Linked DNA regions of Homo sapiens: all the other regions are linked to region 1. Evidence: promoter capture Hi-C in 16 types of primary human blood cells and fetal thymus (Javierre and others, 2016). All regions are on one chromosome and are shown on one strand. The core of a region is centred on a gene start or on the middle of the fragment in contact, and the rest is flanking DNA. Distances in the headings are between cores, read along the strand shown.

Region 1 (4,272 bases), core at 578-3,077:
AAAAAAAAAAATTGGCCAGGTGTGGTGGCGGGTGTCTGTAACTCCAGCTACTCAGGAGGCTGAGGCATGAGAATCACCTGAACTCAGGAGGTGGATGTTGTATTGAGCCAAGATCGTGCCACTGCACTCCAGCCTGGGCAACAGAGCGAGACTCTGTCTAAAAAAAAAAAAAAGAAAATAAAAAAAGAAAAAGAAAAGAAATTAGCTGGGTGTGGTGACATGCACTCGTGGTCCCAGCTACTAGGGAGGCTGAGGCAGGAGGATTGCCTGAGCCCTGGAGGTCGAGGCTGCAGTAAGCATGTTGACATCACTGCACTCCAGCCTGGGTGACACAGCAAGACCTTGTCTCCCCCCGCCAAAAAAAAACCATAAAGAAAGAAAGAAAAAAAAACCCTAAAACCACAAACATTTTGAAAACAATCCTTTCATTGATTTCTTTACACAGATATATAACTTTACACGATAAAATCATATATATATTAATTAAAGCCTAAGTGAAAATGGAATATTAAACTAAAAACTAACCATGGGCAAGACCTGATAGGTCCTAGCCTGATTCTGCTACTTCCTATGTATGTGAACTTGGGAAAACTACCTAACCTCTTTAAATCCTTCATTCCTTTATTAATTAAACAAATATTTATTGAGCACCTAATATATGCAATCCTCTGTGCTATTCCCCAGGCTCAATTGTTTCTCTATCTCTAAAAAGCCAATAAAAAAGAGTATCAGCTTTATAGGATTGTCATAATTGTTAAAATATATATGTAGTTTAGGGCATGGCCTATACAATTACAAAAATTATTGAGGGCTTGTAATTATACTATTCAAGAACCAGGAATAAGAAAAAGGGTCAAAACAGGAGTCCTTAAATGTTTGCACTAAAATTCATGCATTTATTTCACAGGTGAGCCTTCAGAACTCAGTTTCGGGCTGTTTGCTCTTCATTTACACAACATTCTTTCAAAATATGAGGATCTGCTTTCCAAATACCTAGCAGAGAGGAAAGACGGAGGTGCTGCAGTCAGCCACGACACCTGCGGAAATCGGGAAGTATAACCATAGCTTTATAACTAACCAATTATCCCTTGATGGAAAGCTGACAATTCTCCACACTATCCCAAGGAGAGAAAAAGATTTATCCTGCTCTGTGATGCACTCCCTGACCCCTCTCCCCGACGTGCTTAAGCATAAATTGTTGAGAAAAGGTTTAGGAATATCTTGTGAACAGGTAATTAAAATGAATATCATAGAATTGAACAGCTAGAATATAGTTTACAAACCCTCTCCCGTTTCCCCCCTTAAAAGTGATGTTATACTTTCCACAGTGCCTTCCAAGTTTCCCCTCGCTTATTACTGCGAACCCCCGCACCAGGAGGGGAGGCCCCTGGGGAGAGGAGGCTTTGTGGTCTAGCTCATCGCCGAATGTCCTGCTCCGGAAGTAGTCTCTGGCCTGCAAGAAACTTTTATTCAATCATTGAATGGGTGGAGTTGCTGATCTTTCCAAATCTCTCACTTTTCTACCTAGGGAACTTTCTTTTCTTTCCTGTTTGCGGCAGAATCTTTATGCTCAAGGCTGATTCCTAGGTCCCCGACCCTGCATATCCTGGTGGCAAGTAGCCACCCCCACAATCTTCCAACAGCTGGTCCCGCCTGGGCTTCCTCTCTCCAGGAATACTCTCAGTAGCCTTTCCCACGCAAGCCGGGTTCAGGGAATACCTGGGCATCGTCGACGGCCTGGCTGCCGCAAACGTCACAGGCTCGGAGTAGTGACCAGCCTAGAATCAGGCGGCGAGCTCCGCAAGGAGTCTGGGAGTGAGGCCTTCTGGGTTGCCATGGGAGCGACGTCGCGGCCGCGGTTGCGTGGGGAGACGGGCATCATGGGAAATGTAGTTTTCAGGAGTCCTTTTACATCTCATTCTCGGCCTCAAGCCTTAGGATTGCTTTTAGATCCCAAGTTAGTAACTCCTTGTTACCTCCTAGAACGAGATGATAAGGGGTTACAAACCTGGGATCTAAAAGCAATTTTCTTTTATTTTAAAATTTTTTTACTGGGTGTCAACTATATGCCAAGGGTCTCTGCTCTCTCTCTCTCTCATCTTTCACTTTTTTCTTCCCAATCGCCATGATTTAGGAATAGAGGGTGTAACAATCTCTTGAGCTGTTTTCTGCTAATTTACTAGAAGCAAGGAATATTCGGACTTTAAAATTTAAAATAAGGCACGTAATTTTAATATTTTCCAACTTTCTAGATGTTTAGTTGTTTCAAGTTTTATTCAATAGCACATTGTGTATTTATTAATAAATTAATGAAGCAAGTGCATCTCCTACATACTTCATTTACTTTGTGAATGTAGATTATTTTCTTTTGGAACTTTGTGGTCTCTTTATAGATCTGCAGGAGTGTCCAAATAAATAACGAGCATTGAAATAAATAACAATCATTGAATATGCAAGGCCCTATGCTACACAGAATAAGGAATAAAGAGATGAGTAAGAAAAGATCGCTGCCCTTAAGAAAGACACACACTCAGCTAATTATAAGCACCTAAGGAAGTGAGTGATCTAAACTATTGTATAGAGGTACAAAAATTGCATGAGGGCAAGTGACCAATTATGCCTGAAGGAGATGGTGAAACCATGGCACTGATAGTATTTGGTCTGTATTGAATGCTGAGTAGACTCAGGCTTTCTAGCCTAAGATGCCCTGAATATTTGAAGGAGATACCCTCCCTCCAGTCCTCTACTATTCGGCTTGATTTCTATGGTGCGATGTTCAAGTACATGGGCTTTGGCGTGAGATGGACCTAGGTTCAAGTTCTGACTTGGCCACGCTGGCTAAGTTGTCACATTGCCACATCGGGTAAATCACTGAATTTCTGATCCTGTAAAGCGGGAAAGATTGTGAATCTTAAATGAGATAAATGTAGGTAAAACATAACTTACGTGGGTGTCTGACACATTATAACTGCTTAATGCTTGTTATTATTGTGTGATAAGCTGCTGGTCAGCAACTTCGAACAAAGAAACACAAGGAACACATTCCTGGAAACAAGGCTGATGGTTGATAAAAGGGTGTTTATTTCAAATAAAGTCATTGGGAACAAAATCCTCCCAACACCTAGGTATATTTTGGAGACGTAAAGAACACTAAGCTGCACATAGGAAGGGAATTAATGGGAGTAGAGCTCACCGAAGAAAGGATGATTTTTCAAAGGAGGCTTATACATCTGTCATTGAATCAACAGCTATAGCCTGGTGCTAAGCCAGACTTTAAGCTCACAAACTGATATGGGACAGATTGTAATGAATTGTAATGATTTGGGTTCTAGAACTTCAGAATACTTTTGCATGCTAGTTAGGAAGGCCTGTTGATATTGATAGCAATAACGACAGCTAACATTTTTGCCAAGTGCTTGCTATGTACTGGGCACAATACTCAGTACGAGTACTTCAAAAGTACACTTGTTTGAATAACGGGGAGAGGTGTTTGAAGGAGGGAGCTTGGTAACCAGGAAAGTGAAGGTGATCCGGCTGGGCCCTGATCAGCAGCATTGATTCAGGGTTGATTCAGTTGATCTGACTGAGCAGGTGAGTTCCCCTTTCTTCCCTCATTCCTCTTGAGGCCTTCATACTTGGGCAAAGAAAGTGACTTTCCTGGGTAGATGAAGATTGTTCTTAAGGTAAGAATGGAAGGAGAAGGAGACAATTTTATGCTGCTTTCTGGATGGAATGAGCAACAGTGCAGAAGGGTAAAGGCGTGTGCAGGATGTATTTGGGAAACTGAATAGTTTGGGTTGCGATCATATAAAGTGCCTGGTGGAGCTACAGTGGAAGAGCAAACTGGGCAGGTAGATGGGGCTACTGTGAAGGATGCTGTAGTCTAGACTTTACTGTGTTGGTTATGAGAAACCAAATAGGGTTTAAAAATAGGAGTGTGCCATGATTAGACATGAATTTCAGTGAGATAATTTTTTGCAGTTGTGTGAAGGGTGGTTTGGCATCTAGAAGACCATGCGGAGGCTATTAACAATAGCTAGGAAAGTGACAGGCAGAGTTTTAAAATTTTTTCCCTTGTTTTCAAAGTTATATAAGCTAATTGTAGGGGAAAAAACGTATGCACAGAAAATTAAGAGGGTAAAATAAGCATAAGCCAGAAGTAGTAACTATTAGGTATTTTGGAAATACATTTGATATGTTTCATTCTAATCTTTTTTCTTACAAAGTTGAGATTAATTGTAAAGTTAATTAATGTCCTGATTTTAACATGTA
Region 2 (4,272 bases), core at 1,220-3,719, 960 kb after region 1:
CTTTGGTTTCGTTTTGTTGAATTTTAAATGAGCTTGTTTCTACAGATCACAGCCCTCTGGCTGTGTTCTGACCTACTGAGAGTTCAACAGGATTCCCTCCCTTTACCCATATGGAGGCCACACACTCAATATCTGTAGGGTACAAATGACTGAAATGAGCCTGGGATAAAGAAAACAGCAAAGCAAGCCAGTGAATCAAGGCAGCTGGCACCTACCTCTGTGTTGGAGAATAATGGAGAGTGACAGGGACCGTGGCAAACCGAAAGCCACATACACATCCAAGATGGGCAGTCAGTCTTGCCATATAGGAATAAGGGCCCCAGATGGCCCGGCTTTTTTTTTTTTAGACAAGGTCTCACTCTGTCTCCCAGGCTGGAATACAGTGGTGTGATCTTGGCTCACTGCAACCTCCGCCTCTCAGGTTCAAGAGATTCTCCTGCCTCAGCCCCCCGAGTAGCTGGGACTACAGGCATGGCGAATTTTTGTATTTTTAGTAGAGGTGGGATTTCGCCATGTTGGCCAGGCTGGTCTTGAACTCCTGACCTCAGGTGATCCACCCGCCTCAGCCTCCCAAAGTGCTGGGATTACAGGCGTGAGGCACCACACCCAGTCCTGACTTTTCATTAGAAACTGAAAATCTCGGCATTTCTGTGAAATCTCCCAATATGGAGGCAAATGATTTTTTTTTTTTAATGTCAGCACTTTGCAAGTTAGTGCTGGAAGGCCAAACAAAATCTGTCTGCAGGCTAGATTTGTTCCATAGATGGCTGGTTTGTGATCCCTGACACCACAGCATCTAATGCATTATATAGTAATGCATTAATAATCAGTTGACATTCTTAGCAGTTGGGTCACACTGCTGGCACAACCGAGGTTGCACACATCTGAAATCCCCAGATCTTTTACATGCAAACAGCTGTCAAGCCAGGCATCCTCACACATGGAACTTTGAACTGAACATAGACTTACAATTATCTCTATGAAAATTGCATCTTATCATTTGTCAGAAACATTTGCCTCCAGATTGGCTCCACTCTTCTTCTAAATTCTACTGAATCTGCACTCCTTTCAGGCTGTGTCACCCCTAGCTCTGATGAGCCCTTCTTCATCCAAGCATTCTACAAAGCCAAGGTCAGCCTGGGTTACATCAGGTTTCTCTCCTGCTGGGGCCTGGGGTTGTTCAGTTGTCACTTCAAGCTTCCTTCGCAGTTTGGTCACTTCATACTTACCCACTTCCTTCTTGAAGCCACTACACAGTATAGTCAGGCCTAAGCCAGTGGTCTGATGCTAATAAAAATGTCATAATACTTTGTGGTTTTTAAAGCATTTTCCCATATTCTGACTTGATTTTTTTTTTTTTAATTGAGACAGAGTCACTCAGGCTGGAGTGCAGTGGTGCAATCTCAGCTCACTGCTGCCTCGACCTCTTGGGCTCAGGTGAGCCTCCCACCTCAGCCTCCCAAGTAGCTGAGACTACAGGCGTGCCTCATCACACTGGGTTAATTTTTGTATTTTTTGTAGAGACAGGGTTTCACCATGTTGCCCAGGCTGGTCTGGAACTCCTGGGCTCAAACAATCCTTCTGCCTCAGCCTCCCAAAGTGTTGGAATTACGGTGTGAGCCACCATGCCCTGCCTCACTTGATTTTTATCACCCACCACAACCTTAAAAAATTCTATCAACATCACTTTAAGACACTGGGCCACAAATAGGCTCAGAGTATGTTTGTTGTTTATGGCCTAATCAATAATTTCGTAGCTGAAGATTTCTAAATTAAGGAAAGAAGAACTAGTTTAGCTTCCTTCCAACCCTACCATCTTATCAGGAAAACAGTTCCTAAAGCCACTGCCATTCCAGCAGTAACCAGTAGGGACAGAAACAATATTGAAGAATGTTCTAACCATAAGAGTTGTTGGAAAATGGAATAAGTTGCCTTGAGAGGAACTGAAATTCTGATGCTAGCAGTTTTCAAATAGGAGCTAGGGTTTTGTGGAAAGGATTTCTCTGTGGATAGGAGGTTGACAGAATGATCTCTCATTCATTTATTGTTGTCTGTTTGGGATCTTGCTTTGAGCTCAGCTCTCAGAAGTACCTAAGAGACTCCTGGTGGTCAGTGAGTTACCTGTGAAGATTAGAAACCTGCACTTTCTGAGTCTGATCACTTTTCTGTTTGTGCATTTTAAAATTAATCACCTCTTACAAAGCAGTTTTTGGCAAATTTCCTTTTGAAAATGCCAACCCTTTCTCCATTATTCAAAAATGGAAAGAATCCATACAATGGACTGTCATACAGTCATAAAAAGAAATGAAGCACTGATATATGGTACAATATGGATGAATATTGAAAACATTATAAAGTGAAAAAGCCAATTACAAAAGACCACATGCTGTATAATTCCATTCGTAGGAAAGTCCAGACTAGGGAAATCTACAGAGACAAAAAGTGGATTTGTGGTTGCTTAGGGCTGGTGGGGGAACAGGATGGGAAGATGAGAGGGTGAGAACTAGTCTTGAGGTGATGAAAATGTTTGAAAATTTACTGTGGTGATGATTGTACTTATCTGTGAATATACTAAAATCCATTGTACACTGTAAAATGGGCGAGTTGTATGGTATAGGAATTATATCCCATTAAAGCTGTTGGGTTTTTTGTTTTTTTTTTTATAGAAAGTAAGCATACTTTTTTTTTTTTTTTTTTTTTTTTTTTGAGACGGAGTCTCGCTGTGTCGCCCAGGCTGGAGTGCAGTGGCGCGATCTCGGCTCACTGCAATTTCCGCCTCCCAGGTTCAAGCAATTCTCCTGCCTCAGCCTCCCGAGTAGCTGGGATTACAGGCGCACGCCACCACAGCCGGCTAATTTTTTGTATTTTTAGTAGAGGCGGGGTTTCACAGTGCTAGCCAGGATGGTCTCCTGACCTCGTGATCCGCCCGCCTTGGCCTCCCAAAGTGCTGGGATTACAGGCGTGAGCCACCACGCTCAGCCGCAAGTTTTTTTTGTTTTGTTTTGTTTTGTTTTGTTTTTTTAGACAGGTCTGGCCCAGGCTGGAGCAGTGGTGCCATCTCAGCTCACTACAACCTCGGCCTCTCGAATCCAAGAGATCCTCTCACCTCAGCCTCCCGAGTAGCTGGGATTACAGGTATGCGCCACCACACCCGGCTAATTTTTGTATTTTTAGTAGATACGGGGTTTCGCCCTGATGGCCAGGCTGGTCTTAAACTCCTGGGTGATTAAAAAAAAAAAAAAATCCGCCGACCTTAGCCTCCCAAGCCGGGATTACAGGCGTGAGCCACCGCGCCTATTTTTTTATTATTATTATTATTCTTTTTTAATGGATAGAGATTTTATTTGTTTCTAAGCCTGGGCTGCATTTCTACAGGGGACCTATCCCATGCCTCTGAGGATGTCTGTGAGCCAGAGGCGACCTCCCCGGGGCTGGCGAGGAACCCGGCACCAGGACGAGGGGAAGTGGGCGGCCCTTCCCACATTCCAGTTGGCATAGGGTTCCTGTTCTGCATCGAGGGGCTGGATGGGTGAGAGCAACCGAAGCCTGGGCTAGCGCAGGAGATAGACAAGAGCTCCGCCCTCCATCCATTTCTCTGAACGTTCTAGGTCTTGATTTTCACCACTCGCGGGGTAATATTTCCACCCAAAATCTAGCAACGATCCCGTCCATGAAAACAGCTGAAAATCTCCCCTTTGAAAGAACACGTCCAGGAGGCTTTCCATCCCTTAACTAAGCTTGTGCCCGCTTTGCCTACCCCCCCTGGCGATGTGGGGCAGGGCGCATCCGCCGGCGACCACTTGGCCTGATTTCCCGGCCCCCGGGAGGACTTCTGAACCAGGATTTGTGACGTGCCGCTAGGAGAAGGGGCACATGATGGGGAGGGGAACTCTCCGAGCACATTCCCCAAACTGCAAATCTGCCCAGGGACGGCTGGGCGCCTGGGTTGAGGAGAAGGGCCCGCAGTCTTATTGGTCTCTGCAGACAGAAGCGAGGGGGAAGAACTCATCACGAGTTACAAGGGCGGAAAACAGCCGCCCCAGGTCTCCCCACAGCTCCCCGGACGCCCCGCGCTAGGCCTCGGGCCCCAACGCCTGGGAATGGTCGGCGGTGCTTGGGCCCCGCCCGGGGGCGAGGGGCAGCGGCCCGGCCCCAGGCCTCATCTCCGCACCGGGAGCTCGGGCTCACACTGTAGAATGAAGTGCCCTGTAGAATATTCGATCCCCACGGCCAGCTAGGGACCCCGCCACAGTGGAGCGCCTCGCCACCTCC
Region 3 (4,272 bases), core at 1,209-3,708, 930 kb after region 1:
CCTGGGTGACAGAGCAAGAACCTATCTTGAAAAAAAAAAAAAAAGGGAACATGATCAGACTTATGGTGTTCAGAGTCTGGTGTGTCAAGGTTTGTCTAACGGACCTCATTTAGGCTGGGGAGAAAGAGAGCACAGGAGGGAGAGAAGGGGAAAGACACATGGAGGGAAAGGGAGAGAGGGAGAGACAGAGGAGGTTGAGCCTCATAGGAAAGGCCCCAGCCCACCAGGTATATCATGGCCCCAGGTGTGACCCATACACATCTCTAGGCTCCAAGGACACTGGGTCAAGGCCAGCCTCATGCTGACAGACAGCAAGGCCTCCAGGACCTGCAGCCAGCAGCCTTCCCAGCCCCTCCTCTCTTTTCTCCCAGGGTTGGTTTCCAGCTGACTCTAAGAAGCCTTGGGAGGGTAGATTGGGAAACACGGGAGGACTCTGGGCTGCAAGGGGCAGCGGCCATCTTCAGCTAGGAGGGTCCGTGGAAAGTGAGTGGGGGGAGGGGAGCACCCAGGAGGGGACTCTGGGGGGCCTTGCGGAGGGTAATCTGTCCTGCATGCCCAGCTTCCAGGGATTCCACATGGAGGAGCTGCTGTGTGAAGTGAAATGTCTATGAGAGGCTGGACTCGGGGGTCTCCACCACTGTGAGCCTGGCAGCAGAGCTCCATGGGAGAAAGATGACACTCCCAGTTGCTTGGCAGAGATGGTTTCTTTGGTTTTTATTGTACAGGCATTTTTACTTTGCACTATTGCAGTGGTAATATTCCAGGGGAGCCATCCCTAGGGGGGTCCTTGAGGGTTTAAATAGACCCAAGGAAATGGTCTTCTATGCCCAGAAAGCCTTCTGTCCTCACCAGGCTTTACTGGTGAGATGTCACACTCAACGCTGGGGGCGCAGAGAGGGTTTGAGAGCTTTGAAACATGAGTGGGGGCCGGGGGGAATGGCTCCAGGCTGCAGATGCTTCAGGAAGATCGTGCCCAGCACCTGAGCTGCTTGAGAAATCTGGCACAGGCACCCGGCACAATAGACTCAAGAACTACATTTCAGAAAAGGTGATAACCAGGTCTGGAGGACACATTCTTGTCTGGCTGTCCCCGGTCCATGAGGGAACCACACACATCCCCACTGCCCCCCACTGCAGGAGTCCTGGTGGGGCCATCTGTTAATCCCAGGGCTCCCCAGCTCCCACCCCTGAAAACAAGTTTGAGCCCTGGATCTCCGCCCTAGGACTTCTCAGCAGTGGAAGCCAATATAGTCCTTTCTGCTCAAGCCTGTTTGATTTGGTCTTCTGTCACTTGCAACTGAAAATGTCCCATCTAACATACCAGACTAATAACTAACTATGAAATAGGCTCCAAACCAAAGAACAGAGTCAGAGTGAAAATGTGTTTTCCAAGGGTCAGAATCCCATAGTTCTCTGGAAGAGAAACATAAAAGACCTCTGCCAGATCTGGACAGGCCAGCTAGAAGCAGTACTGCCCTTAGACATAGGCAAGAGAGGCCCCTGCACACACACACACACACACACACACACACATTAAAGAATACATGGATATCTCTGCCCTTGTCCCTCGAGATCCAGCACTCAGCACTAGTACAGTGTGATCTCTAACCCCAAAACATCCACTCTCATGAGCAACACCATTCAGGCCCCAGGGAAACGCCTCACATCCTTTGTGTTATGTCCTTGAATCAAAAAAGACTGTGTCTACATACTGTGAAAATTTCTGGGCTATGCTGCTGTTCACACCAGAGACAGACACTGCCCTGGCTCTGGAGTGTAGCGAGGAGTGGATGGTGTGCACACTAAGGTAAGAGAAAAGGCATTGATCAAATCCTTCCTCTCACATAGCAAGAATGCAAGAGAAGTGGCAGATCCCAGCGGTGGCAAGATGCACTTTCTTGCTTTTCTTTGTGGTTGCAGAGGTACTCACACATTAGCACAATATTTGCTATAGTTGCACATGGCAGCTGAGGAGCATTTTCCAATATGAATAATTCATAATTTGCCTACATTTGCACACATGTAGGTCAAGATATAACATGCATGAAGCATGACACTGATGCTTTACATTGGCAACTAGACAGACATGGAACAATGCTACAATTGTAAATGAGTTTATTTTTGTAAAAATGTTTAGTAAGACTTCATTACATTTTCAAGACTTATATTTAAAATTTAGCTTCACTTAAACATCTTATTTAAATGTTGAATGTATTAGATAAAGTTGATCGGTTATACTATTAGTTATGTTTGCCTTTTAATTTTAATAGATAATTTTGAAGATTTTAAGAAAAAATAATTTTTAAAACTTACAAGAGAAGTAACTTTAAGCTTTGATCTTTTACAATTTACTTTAATTTACATTTTTATTAAAATAGGTGCAATTTTGTGCTGTTTTGGTTATCTCTGCTGCATAACAAACCCCAAAACTTAGTGCTTTAAAATCAATTGGCCAGGCATGGTGGCTCACTCCTATAATCCCAGCACTTTGGGAGGCCGAGGCAGGAGGATCACTTGAGGCCAAGAGTTCAAGACCAGCCTGGGCAACATAGAGAGACCCCCATCTCCACACAAAAGAAGCTTTTAATTAAAAACAATTATTTTTAATAAAAACAAAATATTTTTAGCTCTCAGGGTTACCTGGACTTAGTGGTCGCTTATGGGGACAGGTCTCTCATGTAGTCGCAGTCAAATGGCAGCAGGACCTAGAGCAAGCTTGTCCAACCTGCAGCCTATGGGCTGCATGAGACCCTGGATGGCTTTGAATGCAGGCCAACACAAATTCGTAAACTTTCTTTTTTTTTTTTTTTTTTTTTTTTTTGAGATGGAGCTTCGCTCTTGTTGCCCAGGCTGGAATGCAATGGCGTGATCTCGGCTTGCTGCAACCTCTGCCTCCCAGGTTCAAGTGATTCTCCTGTCTAAGCCTCCCAAGTAGCTGGGATTACAGGCACCCACCACCATGCCCAGCTAATTTTTGTATTTGTAGTAGAGACTGGGTTTCACCATGTTGGCCAGGTTGGTCTTGAACTCCTGACCTCAGGTGATCCACCCGCCTCAGCCTCCCACAGTGCTGGAGTTACAGGCATGAGCCACCATGCCCAGCCCATAAACTTTCTAAAAAATTATGAGTATTTTTTGTGTGCGTGATTTTTGTTTTTAGCTCATCAGCTATTGTTAGTGTATTTTATGTGTGGCCCAAGACAGTCCTTCTTCTTCCAATGTGGCCACAGAAGCCAAAAGATTGGACACCCTTGGTCTAGAGTCAAACGTTGGCTCAACTGGACTGCACATCCAAGATGGCAGCATCTTCTTTCACCTATCTTCTTTCATCCTCAGCTGGGATGGCTGGAACAAGTGGAATCTGGCTGAATCTATTGCTTTCTCCATGTGGCCTTTCCATGTGGCTATCTTGGCTTCCTTATAGTATGATGGCCTCAGAGGAATCAAATTTCTAAGATGATAGCTGACTTACCCCAGAGCAAGCTTTCTAACAGACCCAGCTGAAAGGCAAAAGGCTTCCCATGGCCTATCCTCAGAAGTCATGCAGCCTCACCATCACTGCTTTCTGTTGGTCAAAAGCGAGTCACGGAGACAACCCAGAGTTAAGAGAGGGGAATACACAAGGTTGGGCATACTAGGGGTGTGAACACGGGGGTGCTATCTTGGAAGACTAGCTGCCACAATGTCTGCCCTCTGCCTCCCATGAATCACATACCTCCCACGTGCAAAATACAGTCGCCTTCCAAGACCATTAAGGTATCAGCCATGAAGCCTTTAGGTTCAGGCTCCAAATCCAGGACCTCAACCTCTAACTCAGGTCCAGGTGCAAATAAGGCCCCTCAGGTGTGGTTCTTTAGAGAGGGTTTGTTTTGCCCTGAAGATCTGTGAGCTAAAGAGACAAGTTGTCTTCCCCCATGGCCAACGTACAGCAACAAAGTGGACACAGGATAATGGCAACAGACACTCTCATTCAAAAAGGAGAAGAAACTAGCACAGTGCAATTCCGAAAGCAAGCCAGGCACATGTCACCAGTGTCTTCATTAGACCTGGTCCTGCTCTCAGGGAGGGGCTGTCCCTAGCTGTTGGCTTCACACTCAATTATCCATCCTTCTCCATAAGAAATGACCAGGGCAGCTGGGCACAGTGGCTCACGCCTGTAATCCCAGCACTTTGGGAGGCCGAGGTGGGTGGATCACATGAGGTTGGGAGTTCGAGACCAGCCTGGCCAACATGGTGAAACCCCATCTCTACTAAAAATACAAAAATTAGCCA

What was found. Contacts are between HindIII fragments. The CHiCAGO score rates a contact against its expected background, and 5 or more counts as called.
Region 2: a fragment that was not itself captured here is called in contact with the fragment with the promoter of DYNC2LI1 in region 1 in 4 of 17 cell types (total CD4 T cells, total CD8 T cells, naive CD8 T cells and 1 more); the score reaches 7.1 in total CD4 T cells.
Region 3: a fragment that was not itself captured here is called in contact with the fragment with the promoter of DYNC2LI1 in region 1 in 1 of 17 cell types (total CD8 T cells); the score reaches 5.1 in total CD8 T cells.

What each region holds. Positions count from the first base shown.
Region 1 is chr2:43,771,594-43,775,865 of GRCh38, reverse strand. DYNC2LI1 (dynein cytoplasmic 2 light intermediate chain 1) reads right to left here and starts at 1,827. Exons shown (of 13, transcript NM_016008.4): 1 at 1,720-1,827. The coding sequence starts at 1,727. It overlaps LOC105374571 (a long non-coding RNA gene), which reads right to left and starts at 1,713. Exons shown (of 2, transcript XR_940033.2): 1 at 1,320-1,713; 2 at 874-993. It also overlaps the pseudogene RN7SKP66. RefSeq lists an enhancer at 1,892-1,941. The HindIII fragment of the contact is 6,929 bases long and covers 1-4,272 here.
Region 2 is chr2:42,810,919-42,815,190 of GRCh38, reverse strand. No RefSeq gene overlaps it. Among named protein-coding and RNA genes, the nearest start is that of TRI-TAT2-1, 2.5 kb to the right of the region's middle. RefSeq lists enhancers at 3,712-3,791, 3,822-3,921 and a silencer at 4,002-4,272. The HindIII fragment of the contact is 2,540 bases long and covers 1,200-3,739 here.
Region 3 is chr2:42,837,698-42,841,969 of GRCh38, reverse strand. No RefSeq gene overlaps it. Among named protein-coding and RNA genes, the nearest start is that of TRI-TAT2-1, 29 kb to the right of the region's middle. The HindIII fragment of the contact is 249 bases long and covers 2,334-2,582 here.